Linked DNA regions of Homo sapiens: regions 2, 3 and 4 are each linked to region 1. The links are contacts of gene promoters, found by promoter capture Hi-C in blood cells and fetal thymus (Javierre and others, 2016). All regions are on one chromosome and are shown on one strand. Each heading gives the region's core, a stretch centred on a gene start or on the middle of the fragment in contact. The rest is flanking DNA. Distances are from core to core; before and after follow the strand shown.

What was found. Contacts are between HindIII fragments. The CHiCAGO score rates a contact against its expected background, and 5 or more counts as called.
Region 2: a fragment that was not itself captured here is called in contact with the fragment with the promoter of SPDYE4 in region 1 in 4 of 17 cell types (total CD8 T cells, megakaryocytes, monocytes and 1 more); the score reaches 9.5 in total CD8 T cells.
Region 3: a fragment that was not itself captured here is called in contact with the fragment with the promoter of SPDYE4 in region 1 in 10 of 17 cell types (megakaryocytes, total CD8 T cells, naive CD4 T cells and 7 more); the score reaches 10.9 in megakaryocytes.
Region 4: a contact is called between a fragment that was not itself captured here and the fragment with the promoter of SPDYE4 in region 1, in 1 of 17 cell types (megakaryocytes). The highest score is 5.9, in megakaryocytes.

Annotation. Positions count from the first base shown.
Region 1 is chr17:8,756,578-8,760,813 of GRCh38, reverse strand. SPDYE4 (speedy/RINGO cell cycle regulator family member E4) reads left to right here and starts at 2,268. Exons shown (of 7, transcript NM_001394956.1): 1 at 2,268-2,540; 2 at 3,322-3,552. The coding sequence starts at 2,432. The HindIII fragment of the contact is 1,936 bases long and covers 1,808-3,743 here.
Region 2 is chr17:8,455,383-8,459,618 of GRCh38, reverse strand. The region is part of intron 7 of NDEL1 (nudE neurodevelopment protein 1 like 1); the gene reads right to left. Among named protein-coding and RNA genes, the nearest start is that of NDEL1, 22 kb to the right of the region's middle. The HindIII fragment of the contact is 339 bases long and covers 1,635-1,973 here.
Region 3 is chr17:8,476,795-8,481,030 of GRCh38, reverse strand. MYH10 (myosin heavy chain 10) reads left to right here. Exons shown (of 43, transcript NM_001256012.3): 39 at 506-629; 40 at 713-921; 41 at 2,585-2,693; 42 at 3,983-4,155. Among named protein-coding and RNA genes, the nearest start is that of NDEL1, 43 kb to the right of the region's middle. RefSeq lists a silencer at 3,926-4,220. The HindIII fragment of the contact is 8,636 bases long and covers 1-4,236 here.
Region 4 is chr17:8,494,673-8,498,908 of GRCh38, reverse strand. MYH10 (myosin heavy chain 10) reads left to right here. Exons shown (of 43, transcript NM_001256012.3): 31 at 3,668-3,772. Among named protein-coding and RNA genes, the nearest start is that of NDEL1, 61 kb to the right of the region's middle. The HindIII fragment of the contact is 1,393 bases long and covers 1,828-3,220 here.

The sequences.
Region 1 (4,236 bases), core at 1,019-3,518:
TGTTAGGGGGCTTGTCGACCAGCATACAGGGGCCTTGGAGGCTGCTTCAAAAGTTCCCACTAAGCCAAGGATACAAAGCCTGGTGACAGCCCTCCCATGTGAGGCCCAGGTCTTACTTACCTCGCTCAAAAAATCTTTCCTGCTCATTTCATTCGAGAGTGATTTTGCTTTCTTTGGGATCTCTATTGCGCTGCCCCACCCAGAGAGTTCCAAATCTGAATGGACTCCAATGATGAAGTTAAATCAGCCCCCACCTCAGTCCTTTGGAATTAGAATCTGTGGGGCTGGGTCCTGGCATCTGTATCTTAATGTTCCTAGTTGAGATCCTTAGGCTGAAAGGCTGGTATTTGCAAAGCACTTCTTCTCCTCCAAACTCAGCCTCCGAACTAGCTGGGACTACAGGTGTGTGCCACCACACCAGGCTAATTTTAAATTTTTTTGGAGAGACGGAGTCTCACAACGTTACTCAGACTCATCTCCAACTCCTGGGTTCAAGTGATTCTCCAGCCTTGGCCTCCCAAAGTGTAGGGATGACAGGCAGGAGCCACCATGCCAGCCAATAAAGCCCTTCTGTTTCACTCTAATGATATCTTTGGTGCATAGCTACAGCCATTGTTGTATTAACCTGCATCACTGAAGGAAAAGAGAAGGGGAGAAGTGATAGTTTTGCTTTTCCCTGAACATATCAGATGAAACCTGAACTGTTTAGCTCATTTTTGGACAATGTATTGACATAATTTAAGATGGCTGCCTTATTGTAGCCTGTCTACAGAAGGTGCCTAGAAGACAGAGGAATATGTAAAACTGGCTTGAAGAGTGATTAATCAGAACTTTACGTGGTACAGAAGAGAAATTTTAATGGCAACAGAATATTGATCTTCTAATGTTTGAAAGCCTATTAAATAGGAGAGAAAGATGATTTTCTGTTTTGTTGTAAAAGGATCCAACCAGTTCTGATGGTTGAAAGCATCGTGAATGCGAAGGTCCACTCAATGTAAGCAGAGTTTCCTAACAATTGGACTTCCACAGCGACGGGATCTGCCTCCTCATTCAGTTGTGCCTTTCCCATCAGCGAGAGACTCCTAGGAGCCCATTAGGAAGCTGTGCCAGAACTCACAGGTTCTTTGGATGGTATCTGAGATAGTATCCAGCTCTTACATTTTTATTTTTTCCGAAAAAAATATTTTTGAGACTGAGTCTCACTCTGTCCTCCAGGCTGGTGTGCAGTGGTGCAATCATAGCTCACTGCAGCCTCAAACACTTGGGCTGAAGCAATCCTCCTGCCTCAGCCTCCCAAGTACTGGGACCACAGGTGTGTGCCACGATTCCTGATTACTTTGTTTATATTTTGTAGAGATGACGTTTTGCTATGTTGCCCAGACTAATCTTGAACTCCTAACCTCAAGTGACGCCCTGCCTTGGCCTCCCAAAGGAGGGAGATTATGAGCAGGAGCCCCTGGGCCTGGCTGAGATTTTCCCCTTAGTCTTTTTATACACAGGATATTTTATTCATAAAATACATAAATAGTAGGCAAATTTTGGGGTCAAGTGAAATAGATATGTTGTAATAGTTGATATATAGACCAGAGTTCCTTAGCTGAACTGGAGGGCAGGCTTTAGGTGATCCATGGATGCCCTGAACTTGTGGACACCATTGAAAATCTGTACGAAACCATGGACAGTCTCCTGTGATTTTCATTCCTCAAAATGTCTCTTGGACTCAAAGATGCCTGAGAGCAAAGGATGCATGTTCCCCTACTATAGGATCCAGGATAGTGAATATCAGTAAACATTCAGCAAAAAAGCTTTGCCACATTGAGTACTTCGACGTAACGTCTCCATTCAACAAGTCAATTTACCCAGGATCTCCTGTATATGTTAATCTCACTCTTGGAAGGACTCATCATTCTGCTTACCCTAAATTTCCTTCCACCTTCCTCCCTCTCTCACCAGACTAGACTCTGAAATGGGAAGGAGAAGCGGGGAGGAGAGCCCAACACCCCCTCAAGTTTAGAGTGGAGAGGACACAGCCTCTGCTGGGACAGGGAAAAGAGGAATGTGGAGACCCTGAGGATGCTTTTGGACAATGCTCAGAGGTTGGGACATTGCCAGGAGATACCGTTCACCCCGGATCTCCAAGAAAAGAGATCAGTCTGGCAGTTACATGTGTTTTTCTTCAAAGTAGTTGCCAGTTTGGAATGACCGATGACATCAGAGATTCCGACTTTCCTGATTGGAAGGACCGGACTCTGGTTGCTTGGGAGTTCAGGTGGACAACAGCAACTTCTCAGAACTACTCTTCACTCCTAACTTCTCCCGAGCCTCTAGAAGAGAAACGCACTCTTCTGGGTCCTAACGGAGTCTGGAAGAAGGCTTTGGACAGAACAGGGACTAGGTTTTGTGGACAGAAACAAAGTGTTTGGGAGAGATTATGGCCAGTGGTCAAGCGCGCCCCCCGTTTGAGGAGGAGAGCCCCCAGCCTAGCACAACGGTACGGTCCCCCGAGGTGGTGGTGGATGATGAAGTGCCAGGACCATCAGGTGAGGTGACTGGAGGGAGAAGCGATGGGAGATGATTGACTGAGGAGAGGGAAGGGGGCCAGTTACTGGGAATCTGAAGCACCTGAGTAGGGTGTGTGGGAAAGAAACGACGGACTCAGGAAGCCAGGGATCGGGGAAGGAGGGTGCAGGGAATGGGGCCAAGCATGGCCACGTGTAAAGAAAGTCTGGGGAGCAATGAAGGGGGTCAGGAGATGTGCTCAAAAGATGAGAGAGGAAGGCCGAGGCGGACGGATCACGAGGTCAGAAGATCGAGACCATCCTGGTTAACACGATGAAACCCTGTCTCTACCAAAAATACAAAAGTGAGTTGGGCATGGTGGTGCGTGCCTGTAGTCCCAGCTACTCAAGAGGCTGAGGCAGGAGAATCATTTGAACCCAGGAGGCGGAGGTTGCAGTGAACCAAGATTGTGCCACTGCACTCCGGTCTGGGCAACAAGAGGGAGACTCCATCTCAAAAAAAAAAAAAAGAGAGAGAGAGAGAGAGAGCAGACAGAGCTCAAGGGAAGGTTTCCATTTTTCTCCAATTGAAAGTTCTTATCTGTGATGAGGAAATGTTTTGAGGACAGAGAGCCGGAAGAATGGGGAGGTGAGGGAGAGGCAGATGGGGATCAGCAAAGGAGAAAGGTGGAAACATGGCTTGGAGAAGCTGACAGTCTGCGAGGCTTGGGAGGATGGAAGAGTAGTTTGAGGTTCCTGGGTCGGGGCGTCTAAGGTGATCAATGGCAGAAACATGACACCATGGCCTGGTTTCTTCACTCAGCCCCTTGGATAGATCCCAGCCCCCAGCCTCAATCCCTTGGCCTGAAAAGGAAGAGCGAATGGTCAGACGAATCCGAGGAGGAGCTGGAGGAGGAGCTGGAGTTGGAGCGCGCCCCTGAGCCCGAGGACACCTGGGTGGTGGAGACGCTGTGTGGGCTCAAGATGAAGCTGAAGCGAAAGCGAGCATCCTCCGTGCTCCCTGAGCACCACGAGGCCTTCAACAGGCTCCTTGGTAGGAGGATACCCCAAAAAGCACCTCCAACCCTGTTCTTTTAAAAAAGTGGAATCTTTCAATAATCACACTTTCCCAATAAGAAGAATATGCCCTCCTGGGGGATGAGCGCTCCATGCAGGAGGAGGATGCTTAGGAGATAGAGGATTAGGCTAGTCTTAATAAAGGTCTGCACTTGAAATAAGAAAGCTTGGTTTCTGGCCAGGTGCAGTGGCTCATGCCTGAGATCTTGGTGCTTTGGGAGGCTGAGGCGGGAGGATCTCTTGAACTCAGGAGTTTGAAGTTGCAATGAGCTATGATTGCACCACTGCACTCCAGCCTGGTTGACAAGGAAAGACCCTGTCATAAAATAAATAAAATAAAATAAAATAAAAGATAAAAGAAAGCTTGGTTTCAGCTGTACCCTCTGAAACTCTATGTCTCTTGATGACTTTTCTAAACCTAAGTGTCTCCATCCGTGGAGGGGGATAACAAGGCCATGGGCACACCCAGCTGTGACTATCTCAGGAAGCAATGATGGGAATTCTATTATGACTTCTGCAGTGGTCCCTTCCTGTCTGATGGGAGGACATCATGGCTTATTCACAGCTCTTCATCCTGTAGACTCTGACACCAGAGGCCTCCTTCGGCCTCTCCTCAGGGGAATCTCAGAGCGGGAGCCTCCCTCCTTGCCCAGTGAAAGTC
Region 2 (4,236 bases), core at 555-3,054, 300 kb after region 1:
AACCCAAAAATATCACTTGAGAATTTTTTTTACGGCAGCCAATTCTTTCTCTAGGTTCTTCATTTTTTCTACTGCATGAGAATGGATGAGAACATTTACAACACTTTACATGAAATTAAAAGCTATTTTATTTCTGACAGCACTCTGTAAAATGTTTAACTGATACCCTTTGTCTGTAATTAAATAATTCACCCGCAAATGACACTGGCCTTTTAGCATTTACCTCTAAATTGGGCACCCTTGTTTTGCACCTGTCACCACAACACCTGGCAAGCACAGGGCTCTACCAACGCAGATGACATGGAGAGATCAGGCGTTTCTCATGTATTTCCACACACTCACACTTCACCAGCTGTCTCTTTCCCATAAACACTTTGCCCAAATCAAACCCCTCCTTCTCCGAAAAGAAAAATACTATCCATGGCAAAATATATATATACACAATTCATGTCTATTATCCATGACAGTAAAGGACTGGGAATGCACAGCTAAATTAAATCCACAGGTAACATATACTTCACTTTGAGAATCCATTTGGACCTCCTCCCCCCACATTTCAATAACAGCTATTCAGAAACAGCAACAATGGTTGGGTGCAGTGGCTCATTCCTGTAATCCCAGCACTTTAGGAGGCCAAGGCAGGTGGATCACTTGAGGCCATGAGTTCGAGACCAGCCTGGCCAAGATGGTAAAACCCTGTCTCTACTAAAGAAAAAATAAAAAAATTAGCTGGGTGTGGTGGCATGCACCTGTAATCCCAGCTACGCAGGAGGCTAAGGCACAAGAATCACTGGAACCCAGGAAGCAGAGATTGCTGTGAGCCTTGATAGCACCACTGCACTACAGCCTGGGCGACAGAGTGAGACTCTGTCTCAAAAAAAAGAAACAGCAACAAAAACAGACAAACTTTTTTCTTCTCCTTCTTTCCTATGACAAAAGTACAATGACCTACTAAAATGACAACAGAAAAAAGGAAGAGAGGTAATGACCTTGTAAAACAAACTCTGAATAAGCATAATTCAGCAATAATTCAGCAGCTTATTAAAGCTACACACACACACACACACACAGTAGAAATTGAGAGCCATTCAATTCCTATATTCAAGACACGCATTCATTCAAATCCATATTGAGTATCTATCACACGGCAGGCACAACTTATGTCTGAGACATCAGTGAGACATCCAAGCACGAGCACCAGGTCTTTTGAGGGGGGAAAGGGTGGTCTAGAGATTAAGATTTGAAAGACATCCACACCCAGGGGTGGATGAAACTATGGCTGTGATTAAGATCAGAAAATCAAGGACAGAACTCTGAGTAAAACCAATATCGAAAGGGTGAGCAGATGAAGACCCAACAAGATGACTAAGAGGAATGGAAAGAAAGTTGGGAGCAGCCATGAAACAGCATCAGAGAAGGAGAGAAAAGAGGGCATTAAAAAAAAAAAACGGTCAGTGTTGAATGCTTCAAGTAAAATTAGGACAGAACGGCATCCACAGGATTTGACAGCACTGAGATCACCAGTGAGCAGTTTTAGCGGCATAAGCAGGGGACAGAGCCCAGGCTAAAGTGTCTGGGGCGTGTGCATGCAGTCAAAATGCTAACAATAAATGGGGACACGCTTTCAAGAAGCTTTAAAGTATGTAATATGTACCACATAAGTATTACATATATTTATATGGATAACATGTAATACAGAAATATCAAAGTATACCTGTATAACACATAACATATAATGTGTAATACATAAACATTATACATAAATATTAACGCATATATAGTAAAAGGCTGAAATACAGGAGAAATAAAGATTTAAGGGTTGGAAGAAATGAGATCCAAAGCACAGATGGACAAAATTAGCCACGGACAGGAATTTGCACTTTTACCACTGGGACAAAAAGGAGGAATGGCTACAAATAGAGGTAATAATAGGAGAGTAATAACAAAAGATGAGAAAAGAAATCAAAGAAGCTTAAAACAAATGGCCTTGATTTTCTCTGTGAAGGCATGCAAGAGTGGAGAAGGGCTTCCAGTTCAAGTCAGTGGACAAAGTCGTGTAAAGAGGCATAAATGAAATATTCATAAAAGCCAACAAGGGCTGGTGGACACCAGCAGACCCAAAGTGTTGATGACTTTTGGAGGTCGTTATTTTGATAACTCTTAGAAGACGGATTGTCAGCTGAATGTGTAAACCATACAAGGATGCCAAATTAAACTTTCATGCACCACTTCTGAATAAATTAAAGTACTAAAGCAAAACAAACAAGGAACAAAGACAGACAACAACGTGGGGTGAGGAACAGGCAGAACTAACCCAAGAGTAAAATGGAGAGAAATTCGAGGGCGACAACAATGCAGCAGCCCTCGAAGCCCATCAGGGCATCCCACAAAGAGTGTGAAGAAGAAGCTAGAAGATCCGAGAGCAAAGAAAGGTGTAGGTTTCTTCTACTCAAAAGAAAGAAGGGGAAACAGAAATGCTAGGAAAAGAAAGCAGCGTACAGTCAGCTACAATACGAAATATTTAAAAACCCAGTATGATTTTGAGTAAATTACAGTTAAAGAACAAAATTCTCAAAACACATTTGTTGAATGGCACAAATATAAAGACCCATCTGAAAGTCCAGCATCTCCTCTGTGATTACACAGTAAATAACACATATATGTGCATTGTTACAAATGCTGTTTGACTACTTTTCCATTTTTAGAACCAACCAACAGAGAGCTCACACAGCTAGTAGAGGGCTCAGAAAAGGAAAGCGGAGTGGGAGTGTGGTGGGGAAGAAAGGGAGAGAACAGCGAGTTAAGATATAGTCTAATACTGGCCAGACATGGTGGCTCATGCCTGTAATCCCAGCACTTTGGCAGGCCAAGGCAGGCAGATCACCTGAAGTCAGGCGTTCAAGACCAGCATGGCCAACATGGTGAAACCCCGTCTCTACTAAAAATACAAAAATTAGCCAGGTGTGGTGGCATGTGCCTGTAATCCCAGCTACTCAGGAGGCTGATGCAGGAGAATCGCTTGAACCTGGGAGGCAGAGGTTGCAGTGAGCTGAGATCGTGCCGCTGCACTCCAGCCTTGGCAACAAAGCGAGACTCCGTTCTCAAAAAAAAAAAAAAAAAAAAAAAGATATAACCTAATACATTCAGAAACAAAAGTTCAAGAATGTTAAAGTAATTTTTTTAAAAGAACAAAAAATAAAAATAAAAATATCTTTGCTTAAAGTTGAGTAAATCAAGATAAACAGAAAAATAAGCACATGATTTCAAGTTATAAAGACAAATACTCCAACATAGAGGATTTTAAAATGGTTATCTTGGGAGTGAAGAAAGATTACTCTATGTACTGTAGGAACGACCTGTGCACTTTACTTTGTATTTTAACCTTAAAAATGCAGGTTTAATCTGATGGTTAGAAAATAACCCCTATGATGAGCTGAAACAGGCAAACATAGGACCTGTGTCTTGGCCTCCCATATCTGCTTTAGATAAAGTATAATGCAATTTCTACATTTTTTAGAAAGTGTCACACACGAAAATAAGTGAAGGGGGTAGTAGATAGTGGGAAATGGCAATGGTTGATTACTGAAAGGAGAGGTAAAACTCACTAAGGGAAATAGTAATGGGAGCTAATGCTAGAAATGCTGACTTGATAGTGGCATAAATCCACATGGTTCTGCAACTGTTTCCAGTAATTCAGACTGCAGATCTCCTTTGTGGCCAGAGAGACCATGAAGTCAACAGTGACAGAGTAAGAGATGTGTGAGATCACAGATGAATAGAAAGGAAGTGAAAGCAAGAGATGGCTGATAAAAACAAACACACTAAAAAATGGGGTAATACTCTTGATGAGGTTAAAGAGTAGGTATGGTACACAGTAACACACTGATTAAGCAGAAAAACGGGTTTAATTTTTTTTTTTTTTTTTTTTTTGAGATGGAGTCTTGCTGTCTGTTGCCCAGGCTGGAGTGCAGTGGCTCGATCTCGGCTCACTGCAACCTCCGCCTCCTGGGTTCAAGTGATTCTCTTGCCTCAGCCTCCCAAGTAGCTGGGATTACAGGCATCTGCCACCATGCCGACTAATTTTTGTATTTTTAGTAGAGACAGGGTTTCACCATGTTGGCCAGGCTGGTCTTGAACTCCTGACCTCAGGTGATCCACCCGCCTCAGCCTCCCAAAGTGCTGGGATTACAGGCGTGAGCCACCGCGTCCGGCTGGGTTTAATATTTCAGAAGCGAA
Region 3 (4,236 bases), core at 997-3,496, 280 kb after region 1:
CAGCTAGCTTTGGCAAGCAGGTTCCTCAGATAGGACCTTTCTCTGAATTCATTTTTTCGTTAAAAGTCATTACTGAACTGAACGTCCATCATGCGCCTTTTTGAGCATGCCATCATGAGTAGTTAGAATTTGATTCTCAGTGCATTGGAAACCACTGAAGAGTTTCAGCGGTGGGGAGGCTGGGGTCGTGCTTGCGTTTTGAAAGCGACTCTGGCTGTTGTCTGTGGAGAACAGCTGGAGAGAGGCAGGCAGGGCAGCGGGAGGCCACCCAGCAGTCCAGGTGAGAGATGACAGGCCTGCATCTGGGTGGTGGCAGCGGGGGAGGGTGTTTGGAAGTGTCATCAGTGGGACCTACTGATGGATTTGGGGATGAGTGCAGGGGAAAGAGAAAATTCAGGATGGCTGCTCAGGTTTCCAGCAACAGGGTGGGTGGAGGAGCCTTCCCTGAGGCTCCTGTGCTGTGCTGAGCTGGGATTGAACCGTCCCCTCCTCCTCTCCCCGCCAGGTCCGCGCTGCTGGATGAGAAGCGGCGTCTGGAAGCTCGGATCGCACAGCTGGAGGAGGAGCTGGAAGAGGAGCAGAGCAACATGGAGCTGCTCAACGACCGCTTCCGCAAGACCACTCTACAGGTGGCCCATGCAGGAGCCCGTCACCCAGGGAGGGCTGTGCCACCCCTCAGGCACAAGTGACTAAACTCCTCTCTCCTCTCTAGGTGGACACACTGAACGCCGAGCTAGCAGCCGAGCGCAGCGCCGCCCAGAAGAGTGACAATGCACGCCAGCAACTGGAGCGGCAGAACAAGGAGCTGAAGGCCAAGCTGCAGGAACTCGAGGGTGCTGTCAAGTCTAAGTTCAAGGCCACCATCTCAGCCCTGGAGGCCAAGATTGGGCAGCTGGAGGAGCAGCTTGAGCAGGAAGCCAAGTAAGAGGTTTTTGCTACCGTAAACCAAAACTTACCAACTAGGCTCAGTCAGAGACAAAACAGGCATGCCCCTTTCGGGGGGGCTCCCCACCACGTGGGCAGAGAACACATATAACCAGAGTGGGACACAGAAGTTGGTGTGAGCTGTGAGAGAAGAGCTGTGAGCATTCAGAGCCTGGGAGGACAGACGGCATCCGTGAACAGTCAGGGAAGGCTGGGCTTTAGGACGGCGCCCCGTGATTTCCTAGGCACCCTGAGTTTGCATCTCCTACCCAAAGTCGATTTCCCAAGCGTGTGGCAGCCCATGAAATGCTAATTTGCTGCCAGAGAACAAATGCAGTATGACACAAATCAGAGCCTTTCTTCTCCCCATAGAAGGGATTGCTTAACAGCTTTCATATTGTTGTATTAAAGCATTCTGAAATTGATGAGAAATTGTACAGTACAGCTGCTGGCAGGCATATTACAAAGCTATTAGGTCATAGCGCCCAGAGCCAGGGCAGACCTTCAGATTCACCCTCTTGCTGGGGAGCTTGGAGCCCAGAAATGCAGGGCTCGCGGCCAGAACCCTGCATCCTCCCCAGCCTCTCGTGCCAGGACTTCCCACTCCATTCTTTGGACTCCAGTGGGCTGAAGCAAACAATTAAGGGTTTGTTTCTAGTTGGAATTAACATAAACACCCTTTCAGCTGACTGTCTCTATCTACTTTTGCATAATATTTGTTAAGCAACAAAATAACTTTTTCTGTCTTCCATGGAGTCCTCCAAATAAGTTACCTCTCCTTCATATGGGACGACGTAGATGCATCTGGAAACATGGATTTGTTTCACCTCTAACCAAAGAGGGAGTGTAGGGGGTTTGTTTTTGGGTTTTTTTTCAATGTGAGCTGCCAAAGCCCTCTACATCACAATAGGTAATTAGTAAATTATCAAGTGAAACAATCACTTAATAAATTGGGTTGTTTCTCAGGCTAAAAGTTTAGGTGATTAAACTAAGGATGGTGTCTTCAAAAGTCTATGTTCAGTATAACTGACAGGTAGATTGTATGTAACATTTGCTCTTTAGATCACTGTGTACAGGCCGGGTGCGCTGGCTCACGGCTGTAATCCCAGCACTTTGGGAGGCCAGGGCGGGCAGATCACCTGAGGTGAGGAGTTCGAGACCAGCCTGGCCAACGTAGTAAAACCCCGTCTCTGCTAAAAATACACAAATTAGCCCAGCGTGGTGGTGCATGCCTTGTAATCCCAGCTACTCAGGAGGCTGAGGCAGGAGAATTGCTTGAACCCAGGAGGCGGAGGTTGCAGCGAGCAGAGATGGCGCCACTGCACCCCAGCCTGGGCGACAGAGCAAGACTGCATCTCAAAAACAAACAAAGTAAGATAACTGAGTACAATGATGAATACCTGTGTACAGTAATTAACACCTACACGTGCAGGAATAATGCACTTATTCTACCTGTCACTATTGAGGAATACATTAAAGGCAATTCTGATTTTGACCAGAAGGAAAGGTTTCAGCACATTAGTCATGAATTCTGGACAGAGAGGTCCATAATGCCTCCACCATGTGTCATCTTCCCAAAGAAAAGGGGCTTTAAAAAATATTTTTTCCCACACAAAATACCATTTCAAGAATTTCAAAACTACTGTGACCACTTTCACAGGGAACGAGCAGCCGCCAACAAATTAGTCCGTCGCACTGAGAAGAAGCTGAAAGAAATCTTCATGCAGGTTGAGGATGAGCGTCGACACGCGGACCAGTATAAAGAGCAGGTACGCGAGGAAGTGCCTCCCTGGGAAGCGCGTGAGCAAAGGAACTGGTGGAGAATGAGCTGGTGGCACAACTGACCAGTGGAATTCAGGGCCCTCCCGATTCTGATGTTTCAGCTAACGTGGGCTGTTCCATGTTCCTGGTGGGCACTCCCAGTACCCGAGACACAGGAGGGCGGGGAGAGCAGGTCAGGAAGCAAGTTCAGTGAGGCCTGGACTGAACTGTAAAGCTCCTGCTTCCTCCACTAGAATGTGTGCTTCGTGAGTACAGGGATTTCTGCCTGTTTTGCTCCCTGTTATCTCCCTAATGCCTAGTATAGTTTCTGGATATTGCTGGCAGTCATGAGATACTGGCTGGGTGTAGGGTGGGCACAGGAGATACTGAATAGAAAGTGAAGGGAAGACAAAGGTACTGCACGCTGCACCCGAGTGAGCTTCAGCGTCTGCATCCAGGCCCCCTTTTCTAAGTACACAGGGAATGTTCCGCAGGACTTTGAACTGTGGGTCAGGCCTGCCCTGATTGCAGCGTGGGCAGCTATACCCTCCCTCCCGCTCCCTGCCCTCTGCCTGGTGAGACTTCACACTGCAGACACTGGCCAGAAAGGTGGATGGATCTGAGGATTTCACTGCCTTTGGCCCGAACCCTCCCCAACTTCATTCATTCAGTCAGGCAACCTGGCCTTCCCTTCCCACCCCCACCCTTGGGGCCTAGCAACACGGAGCACAGTTGAGGGTGGTGTGCGCTGGACCCACGAAGCACTGACCAGTGCCTGTGTGGCTCAGGAATGAAGGGTCCAAAAGGGAGGCTCTTAGTTCTGTGGCATGTCATCCCAGGGTGGCTTTCTGCTTGAATCCAAGTCTAGTATCTGAGATGCCCATCCTTGAAAGGAGGTGTAAAGATGCATTGTACCATCTTCTGGGCTGGGGATTGTCCCACATTGCTGGTTCTTCCACGTTTTGCAAGAATAGCAATTCCCTTTCAGTCCCCTAGGTCACGTGTGTGAAGACAGTAAACGCTGTCATTTTTCTGCAGAAAACTCACTGGTAAAAACAGAGTCTTGAGTACTTTTTCATTTCTTTTGGCCTAGTGTGCTTTGTAGATGCTAGCTTTGCTGAGAGCGGCAGGCCGGTTACAGAGCCTCCGACCAGCCCCCAGGCACGCGTGTACATCCGTGTACACGCGTGCTCACAAGGGTAACAGGCAGAGCCCCACACTGCCACGCTCGGGGTACAGAGAGGCCGACACTGGATTCACCAGTTTGGTTTGTTTTGGTTCATGTACCCTCCCCAAGATGGAGAAGGCCAACGCTCGGATGAAGCAGCTTAAACGCCAGCTGGAGGAAGCAGAAGAAGAAGCGACGCGTGCCAACGCATCTCGGCGTAAACTCCAGCGGGAACTGGATGATGCCACCGAGGCCAACGAGGGCCTGAGCCGCGAGGTCAGCACCCTGAAGAACCGGCTGAGGTGAGCAGGCATGCGGCCCCGAGCTGACAGGCAGCTGCTTTGTGGGTTAGCTTAGGCTCGGGGTGCAGCTGGTCAGAGGAA
Region 4 (4,236 bases), core at 1,275-3,774, 260 kb after region 1:
TTATTTTTTACACTGCTGGTATAAATTAGTGCAACCTTTTTTTTTGTTTTTGTTTTTGTTTGAGACAGAGTCTCGCTCTGTTGCCCAGGCTGGAGTGCAGTGGCGCAATCTCTGCTCACTGCACCCTCTGTCTCCCGGGTTCACACTATTCTCCTGCCTCAGTCTCCCGAGTAGCTGGGACTACAGGCACCCGCCACCATGTCCGGCTAATTTTTTGAATTTTTTAGTAGAGACGGGGTTTCACCACGTTAGCCAGGATGGTCTCAATCTCCTGACCTCGTGATCCGCCCCCCTCAGCCTCCCAAAGTGCTGGGATTACAGGCCTGAGCTACTGTGCACAGCCTAGTGCAACCTCTTCTAAAGGACAGTTTGGCAGTCTTAGATCACGAGCCTTAAAACTGTGAGTATCCTTAGACCCGAAAAATCCATGTCTAGTCATTTATCCTAGGGAATTAACTAAGGATGTACACACAGAGTCAACTTCAAGAATGTTCATTGCAGAAGTGTGTACAAAAGTATATACAGTCAGCCCTCAGTATCCACTGGGGGATTACATCCAGGACCTCCTGCAGATACCAAAATCTTCTGATGCTGGAGTCCCTAATAAAAATGGTATAGTATGGGGCCGGGCGTGGTAGCTCACACCTATAATCCCAGCACTATGGGAGGCTGAGGTGGGCGGATCACCTGAGGTCAGGAGTTTGAGACCAGCCTGGCCAACATGGCGAAACCCTGTCTCTTCTAAAAAATACAAAAAAATTGGCCAGGTGTGGTGGTGCACACCTGTAATCCCAGCTACTCAGGAGGCTGAGGCAGGAGAATCGCTTGAATCCAGGGAGGTGGAGATTGCAGTGAGCCGAGATCACGCCACTGCACTCCAGCCTGGACTACAGAACAAGACTCTGTCTCAAAAAAAAAAAAAAAAAAAGGCATAGTATTTGCATATATGCACATCCTCCCATATACTATAAATCATCTCTAGATTACTTATAATACCTAAGACGATGTAACTGCTATGTAAAAAGTTGTTACACTGTATGTTTTAGGAAATAACGACTCAAAAAAGTCATGTTTTTAGGAAATAACCCAAAAAAGTCATGAACTGTACATGGTCAGTGCACATGCAGGGGTTTTTTTCTGATTTTTTTTTTTTTTTTTTTTTTTTTTTTTGAGACAGAGTCTCGCTCTGTCGGCCAGGCTGGAGTGCAGTGGCGCAATCTCGGCTCACTGCAAGCTCTGCCTCCCGGGTTCACACAATTCTCCTGCCTCAGCCTCCTGGGTAGCTGGGACTACAGGCACCCGCCACCATGCCTGGCTAATTTTTTGCATTTCTAGTAGAGATGGGGTTTCACTGTGTTAGCCAGGATGGTCTCGATCTCCTGACCTCGTGATCTGCCTGCCTCAGCCTCCCAAAGTGCTGGGATTACAGGCATGAGCCACCGCGCCCGGCCCTTTTCTGAATATTTTTAATACATGGTTGGTTGAATCCACAGATGGAACCTATGGATAGGAAGGGCTGACTGTGGTTGGAAATAACTTTAATGTTTAATACGGACTTCTATGCAACCAGCAAAAACAATATAGTCGATGAGTCCTTATTGGTAAGAAAAGATGTACATCCTATATTGCCACATTGAAAAAGAATTACAGAGCTGTCTTGTGTCCGAGGCCCAAGACCACACTACAGTACATGATTCTCCAGGACTCTAGGACTCAGCACAGAGGCCTGCTCATGGCAAAGATTTATTACAGTGAAAAGATACAAAGCAAAATCAGTAAAAGGAAAGGGCACGAGGGCTGAGGTGCTGAGGAAACCAGGAACAAGCTTCCAGGAGTCCTCTCCCAGCGGAGTCACACAGCACGTGCTTAATTCCTCCAGCAGTGAGTCCTGACAGCATGCGTGAAATGTTTTCTTCCAAGAAGCCCATTACAGACTCGGCCCCCAGGGTTTTTATTAGGGGCTGGTTACATAGGCACCTCTTGCCTAGCATAAACCCAAATTGCAGACTCCCAGAAGAAACGTAGGTGTTCAACATAGACCATATTGTTTACATGGACAGTTTAGAGAAAAGCCACCCTTATTGTTCAGGAAATAGTGGGAACTCTTGCTAAATTCAAGTTCCCACACACCAGCCAAAGGTCAACATCGCAAGCAGGCCTTTCGAAGGAGGGTGGTCCCGGCCTGCTGTGTTAACGTGTAGGTACTGAAATATTGTGTGCGTGCTCTCACACACAATCTGGAAAGCTATTCCTAAAAGAGAAAATCTCTGAAACAGCATTATGAACTCTGCCTACGGCGGGGAAGGGAGGGGAGTGACAGTTCCTTGTCCCCTGTGCTGCACCAGGCATGTGCTAGGCTCCCATGTACGTTGTTCCCCATTTAAACCTCAGTCAACCCCTCTGGTAGGTGAGGAACCTGAGGCTCAAAGAAGCTAAGGCTCTTGCCCGCTCTGGTGACTTACCTGGCAACTTCTAGAGCTGGTGCTGAAGGCAGGAGTCCCTCTTGACTTTGGAGCCCTTCCCCACCACACTGTTCCCAAGACTGATGAAGTGTGAGCTCTGTGAAGGATGTTGCTAAACAGAGTGACCATGGAAGCGTTACAGCATGTGCTCTGCTGTGGCTGTGCCACCGTCCACTCTCCCTTGGCCGGTGTGACGAGGACTAGCGAGAACGCACGGCGCCCTGCTGCCCCTCTGCGTCCCTCTGCGTCTTCCCAGCACCCACTGTCGTCAAAAATTATAAAGCATCTTATACCACAAAGATTTGTTTGGAAAATATTTTAGAAATATCATTAATTGCGAAGAAAAAAATATTATTAATTAAATCTGACCATAAGAAATAGCTTAAATATTCATGATGAACATATAATACCAGTTTTTTGAAACCTAAAAGAACTTCCAGCCGGGTGTGGTGGCTCACATCTGTCATCCCAGCACTTTGGGAGGCCGGGGCAGGCAGATCAGGAGGTCAGGAGTTCGAGACCAGCCTGGCCAACATGGTGAAACCCCGTCTCTACTAAAGATACAAAAAATTAGACGGGCGCGGTAGCAAGCGCCTGTAATCCCAGCCACTCGGGAGGCTGAGGCAGGAGAATCGCTTGAACCCAGGAGGCAAAGGTTGCAGTGAGCCCAGATTGCACCACTGCACTCCAGCCAGGGCGACAGGGTGAGACTATCTCAAAAAAAAAAAAAACTTTCTTGTACCCCTTTTATAGAAGCTTCAAGTTCTATAAGAATGTGAATTATACTTTCCTCCCAAAACATATGGTTAACGCATATTCGTGTGAAGGACCAAAATCAAGCACCTGCTGGCCTTCAGCCTCCCCACAGAGGATACAGTCACTCTTTCAGAGGCTTTGCTTTAATTTTTGTATCTTCATGATAAAAATAGAAGAAGGTAGGAAACCAGTTAGGAGACCCCCCGCCCCCTGTCCTTTTCATGGGTAGAGACTATTAAGGTGGCCAGGGAGGCAGGTTCTAGTACCTACTTATTTGAGCTCCGTTTGAAGGCAACAGACTCTTGGTGGTGAGTCTTCCTTAACTGAATGGGTAGTTTCAGGTTCACACTCCCGCCGAGTTCTTCTCTGTGTTCTGTTTAAAAGCTGTGTTTCTAGACCCTTTCTGCTTGCTTACTATTGAGTTGAATTTAATCTTCTGCTCCTTACAGAATGAGCTAGATAATGTCTCCACCCTTCTGGAAGAAGCAGAGAAGAAGGGTATTAAATTTGCTAAGGATGCAGCTAGTCTTGAGTCTCAACTACAGGATACACAGGTATTCCCTGGGGAGCAAGGGGTCTTTATAATAACTAACATTTCTGTAATATATAAGCTGGTGAAATATGCTGGCCCCAGAATTGCCTTCTGTGTCACCTCTTACTAGTTTTATGTCATACTTTTATTTGGAGCCAGCCTTGCTACTCGGGATTTCTCCCTGGAAGCTCAGTGTCTTGATGTAGAGCCCCTGGGGTTCGTGTGTCTGGCAGGCACGTGGGTGGCCTCGGAGACAGCTCCAGCTGCCATTCACGGCCGCTGCCTGGGCTGTGGTTGACCCAAGCTATGGTCCTGCTGCACACAATGTCTTGCTGGCCATTTCCAATAAGATTGTTTCCTTATGGTTGGAATTTCATCGTGCTGACCTGTGAGAAACAGTCCATTTTGTAAAAGGGTGAGTTGAGGCTTATCAGACTGTTAAGACCTGTATTGCATCATCCGTTAGGGATGTTTTTAAGTCAGCTA